2 separate regions of the Homo sapiens genome follow, and region 1 is linked to region 2. Evidence: promoter capture Hi-C in human tissues and cell types (Jung and others, 2019). All regions are on one chromosome and are shown on one strand. The core of a region is centred on a gene start or on the middle of the fragment in contact, and the rest is flanking DNA. Distances in the headings are between cores, read along the strand shown.

Region 1 (2,779 bases), core at 71-2,570, 110 kb after region 2:
CTCCTGACCTCAGGTGATCCACCCTTCTCGGTCTCCCAAAGTGTTGGGGTTACAGGTGTGAGCCACCACGCCCGGCCAGAACCACCTTCTTTAAAGATGATCAGGCCGGGTGTAGTGGCTTATGCCAGTAATTCCAGCGATATGGGAGGCTGAAGCAGGAGGATCACTTGAGCCCAATTCAAGACCAGGCTGGGCAACACAGGGAGACCTCTTCTCTACATAAAATACAACAATTAGCCAGGCGTGCTGGCGCCTGTGGTACCAGCTACTTGGGAGGCTGAGGCGGGAGGATCACTGGAGTCCGGGAGGTGGAGGCTGCAGCGAGCTGGGATCGCGCCACTGCAGTACAGCCTAAGCAGTGGAGTGAGACCCTGTCTCGAAAACAAATACCTAATAAAGGCAGTCAGAGGAGAGGTTTAGCAAATTGCTAAAGAACAAATCTGAGATACCGTTAGTTTCCTTACTTGCAATCTTCATCTGCCAAAATGTCAATTCTGTGAATTGCGGACTAGTCAAAAACTTAAAGAAAACCCACTTTTGTGGAGGTGGGGTCGCTTTGCGTTTCCCAGGCTGGTCTGGAACTCGGCCTGCGCCCCTCAGTGCCAGGGCTCCAGGCGACGCTCGGGTGTCGGCAGCAGAGTGGACGCAGGAGCAGCTCGGACCGCGCTCAGAACACTCGGGACGAGGCCGCGGCTCCGCAGGCCTTGCGGGCTGGGGTCCCACGAAACAAAGGCGGCAGCCAGTGGCCAGGACGGGCAGCGTGGTTCACGGGGCCGTGGCTCCCTCGGGGGTCGCGAGCTCGGCGCAAACGAGCCCCTCTACCAAGGTCGCCTAGAGTCGCGACCCCGACATGCGGAGCCGCCCCAGGGGGGTTTCTCCCGGGTCCCTCCTGTCCCGAGGCGGCCGCTTTCTCCGGGGGCCGCGCCCCGCGCCCCAGCAAGGCCCGACCCGCGCCTGCGATTCCGCCCCCAAGGCGCTGCCGCACCGGGCCCCGGCCTCTTCCTCCGAGGATTCTCAGGAATTGCTGAGACTTGCGTGCCAGTGCGAGGCCCACAACACGCACACGCGCCCGCGCCCGCCAGACCCCGCCCCCGGCACCAAGCCCCGCCTACTGGGGGAGACCACGCCCCCAAGCGAGACCTCCCTCACCGAGCCACGCCCCACCAGGCCCCGCCGCTGCGCCAAGACTGTGCTTAGCCGAGCCCCGCCCGCCGGGCCCCGCCCCGACCCCGAGACTACTCCCGCCAGGCCCCGCCCCCGCGCCGAGCCCCGCCCAGTAGTCCCCGCCCACGCACCTGACCACGCCCACGAGCCGGCTCGAACACGCCCGCGCCGCTGACTGGCGGGTGGGGTTGTCGACACGTTCAACCCGTTCTGCTGGCTCGAGAACGAAGTAGGCCGTCTCGCTCTGGGTCTCCAGGCCCGCGACCGTCCGCCAGTCGTCCCGAGGTCAGTAGCTCCAGCGGTGCGTCAGCGTCTAGCCAGGCCTCGCCCACGCCGGCCTTGGTCGGGCTTCTTGTAGACGCGGGCCTGGCGCTATTGAGGCCGTTGCTGCGCGGGCGAGTGGCGCGCTCCCGTGGCGGGGCGGGGTCGGGCGGGGCAGGGGTCCGGGGCTATCGAGGCGGGGCCGAGGTTGCGCTGGGCAGCTGCGCCGCCGGGCGGACGTGGCGCGCCTTGAGGACGTCATCGCGGTGCACGCTCCCCTTTGGGGCTTGCCGGAAGTCCTTGCCCGGGGCGCGGGGCTGCGCCTGCGTGGTTCGTCCTCACGTGGCCGTCAAGCCCTCTAGTGCCTTAGATTCCAGCGAGCTACGCAAGCAATCCTGGCCCAGCCGAGCTTGCTTCCCCAAATCCCGTAATCCTTGACCTTATTCCCCCAAAGAAGCGGCCTCCCGGGAAGGAGCGCCCTGGCGGAGAAGACTCGAACGGCTCCCACAGCCGGGCGTTGGGGGAAAGGTGGGCGGTCTTGGTCGTGCGAGGTCGGGGAGGGAGGGTCCTCCGCTCTCCATTGCGGAGCTTCGCTCCGGGACCACCGGGGGACCGGACGCCGGGCCGCGAAGCTGCCGCCTGGGGCTGCGGGGAGGAGAGCAACATAACTGGAATGGCACTTAGGGGCCGGTGTCAGGGTTGTCACCGGGGTTGGCGGAAATGACGAAGGGGCCCCAGGCACGTCGTGTTACTGGGCGAGGTTCCAGCCAAGGTGCCCACGCGCCTTGGGGGAAACCAGAGGACTTCTGCACCGTTTCCCGAGGACAGTTTGGCAGTGTTTCAGAAGGGCCTTAGAACCAGGCAGGCCCCCTTCTAGGATGGTGGAAAGCCTAAAGATCTGAAAACGGTCTCAAGTGTCGTCTTAGCGATTGGCTGACTAAACCGAATGCAAGCCGGAGACTGCACACGATGTTGCCGTTAACAGTTACACTGGGCCGGGCAGTCAGAGGCAGGCGGATCACCTGAGGTCAGGAGTTCGAGAACAGCCTGGCCAACATGGTGAAAACCCGTCTCTACTAAAAATACAAAATTAGCCGGGCGTGGTGGCAGGCGCCTATAATCCCAGCTACTTGGGAGGTTGAGGTAGGAGAATGGCTTGAACTCAGGAGGCGGAGGTTGCGGTGAGCCGAGATCGTGCCACTGCACTCCAGCCGGCTGACAAGAGCGAAACTCCTTCTCAAAAAAAAAAAAAAAAAAAAAAAGTTACATTAGGCTGGGTGCGCTGCAGCCTGTAATCCCAGCACTTTGGGAGGCCGAGGCGGGCGGATCTCTTGAGCCCAGGAGTTTGCGACCA
Region 2 (2,526 bases), core at 1-2,500:
CCCCTGTCGTCATTAGCGCTTGAGCCCAGGTGTGCAGATGAGGCGGTGGGTCTGGCCACGCTGTCCCCACCCCAAGGCTGCAGCACTTCCCGTAAACCACCTGCAGTGCCCGCCGCCTTCCCGAGGCTCTGTGCCAGCTAGTCTGGGAAGTTCCTCTCCCGCTCTAACCACAGCCCGAGGGGGGCTCCCCTCCCCCGACCTGCACCGGAGATCTCAGGCACCCGGCTCATCTCAGACCTCCCGCTCCCGACCCTACACAGAGATTGCCTGGGGAGGCTGAGGAGCCGATGCAAACCCCCAAGGCGACGCACTTGGGAGCCGGTGGTCTCAAACACCTGCCGGGGGTCCTAGTCCCCTTCTGAAATCTACATGCTTGGGTTGGAGCGCAGCAGTAAACACCCTGCCCAGTGACCTGGACTGAGGCGCGCTGGGGGTGGGTGCGCCGTGTGGCCTGAGCAGGAGCCAGACCAGGAGGCCTAGGGGTGAGAGACACATTCCCCTCGCTGCTCCCAAAGCCAGAGCCCAGGCTGGGCGCCCATGCCCAGAACCATCAAGGGATCCCTTGCGGCTTGTCAGCACTTTCCCTAATGGAAATACACCATTAATTCCTTTCCAAATGTTTTAATTGTGAGAGTATCTGATATTCTTGACTGAACAATGTAAAAAACCCAAAGGGGGCTGCGCACGGCGGCTCTCGCCTAAATCCCAGCACTTTGGGAGGCCGAGGTGGGCAGATCACCTGAGGTCGGGAGTTCGACACCAGCCTGACCAACATAGAGAAACCCCGTCTCTACTAAAAATACAAAATTAGCCGGGCGTGGTGGTTCATGCCTGTAATCCCAGCTACTCGGGAGGCTTAGGTAGGAGAATCACTTGAACCCGGGAGGCGGAGGTTGTGGTGGGCCAAGATTGTGCCACCGCACTCCAGCCTGGGTAACAAAAGCGAAACTCCATCTCAAAAAAAGAAACGCAAACGGTGCAGCTGCCCCTTTTTCGAGGCACGTCCACCTCCCATTACCCACTTCCTTTTTTTTTTGAGACTGAGTCTTGCTCTGTCCCCTGGGCTGTAGTGGAGTGGCTCCATCTCGGCTCACTGCAGCCACTCCCAACGCCCTCCACTCCTCCCTACTCCGCGCTGGCCGGGGCGGGGTTCCGCTGGTCGCATCCAATAATAAGAACAGGCGGCGCGCGCCCTTCCCGGAAACTCCCGCCTGGCCACCATAAAAGCGCCGGCCCTCCGCTTCCCCGCGAGACGAAACTTCCCGTCCCGGCGGCTCTGGCACCCAGGTACTGGGGACCCCAGACCCACGCGGTGCAGGCCGGGAGCGAGAGCCTCCGTGGGGGCTCCGTGACCCCGGAGGGGTAGAGCCAAGAGCTGGGGGAGCCTGAGAGATGAGGGTCGGGCGGGGAGGGAGGCGGAGGCGGAGGCGGGGTTCCGCGGAGCTGAGAACCGGACGGGGTGGGATCGAGGAGGGTGCGAAGCGCCACTGTTTAGGTTTCGCTTTCCCGGGAGCCTGACCCGCCCCTGACGTCGCCTTTCCCGTCTCCGCAGGGTCCGGCCTGCGCCTTCCCGCCAGGCCTGGACACTGGTTCAACACCTGTGACTTCATGTGTGCGCGCCGGCCACACCTGCAGTCACACCTGTAGCCCCCTCTGCCAAGAGATCCATACCGAGGCAGCGTCGGTGGCTACAAGCCCTCAGTCCACACCTGTGGACACCTGTGACACCTGGCCACACGACCTGTGGCCGCGGCCTGGCGTCTGCTGCGACAGGAGCCCTTACCTCCCCTGTTATAACACCTGACCGCCACCTAACTGCCCCTGCAGAAGGAGCAATGGCCTTGGCTCCTGAGAGGTAAGAGCCCGGCCCACCCTCTCCAGATGCCAGTCCCCGAGCGCCCTGCAGCCGGCCCTGACTCTCCGCGGCCGGGCACCCGCAGGGCAGCCCCACGCGTGCTGTTCGGAGAGTGGCTCCTTGGAGAGATCAGCAGCGGCTGCTATGAGGGGCTGCAGTGGCTGGACGAGGCCCGCACCTGTTTCCGCGTGCCCTGGAAGCACTTCGCGCGCAAGGACCTGAGCGAGGCCGACGCGCGCATCTTCAAGGTGGGGACCCCAGCCCCGCCCCGCCCCGGGTGGGAGAGCCCGCCTAGGACCCCGCGGGCCCGGCACACGTGTTCTGTCCCCCTCTTCAGGCCTGGGCTGTGGCCCGCGGCAGGTGGCCGCCTAGCAGCAGGGGAGGTGGCCCGCCCCCCGAGGCTGAGACTGCGGAGCGCGCCGGCTGGAAAACCAACTTCCGCTGCGCACTGCGCAGCACGCGTCGCTTCGTGATGCTGCGGGATAACTCGGGGGACCCGGCCGACCCGCACAAGGTGTACGCGCTCAGCCGGGAGCTGTGCTGGCGAGGTGAGCGACGCCGGCTGCCAAGGGCGTTGGCATTCGTCCTGCTTGGGCAAAGGGGAACATTCTCTGGGTCAGATTTGTGGTTTTAGAAGCTGTTCTGGGAGAGGCTGCCAGCAGGCCCAGGAC

The links. Contacts are between HindIII fragments. The study calls those that stand out against the background at their distance.
Region 1: the fragment with the promoter of RNH1 here is called in contact with the fragment with the promoter of IRF7 in region 2 in 1 of the 25 tissues and cell types used here (spleen).

The regions. Positions count from the first base shown.
Region 1 is chr11:505,783-508,561 of GRCh38, reverse strand. RNH1 (ribonuclease/angiogenin inhibitor 1) reads left to right here and starts at 1,320. Exons shown (of 11, transcript NM_203387.3): 1 at 1,320-1,449. It also overlaps a transcript of LRRC56 not described here. RefSeq lists a cis regulatory region at 1,966 and an enhancer at 1,882-2,051. The HindIII fragment of the contact is 14,362 bases long and covers 1-2,779 here.
Region 2 is chr11:614,674-617,199 of GRCh38, reverse strand. IRF7 (interferon regulatory factor 7) reads left to right here and starts at 1,250. Exons shown (of 11, transcript NM_001572.5): 1 at 1,250-1,287; 2 at 1,553-1,855; 3 at 1,941-2,103; 4 at 2,193-2,403. The coding sequence starts at 1,836. CDHR5 (cadherin related family member 5) reads left to right here. Exons shown (of 15, transcript NM_021924.5): 15 at 1-617. RefSeq lists an enhancer at 1,794-2,388. The HindIII fragment of the contact is 18,510 bases long and covers 1-2,526 here.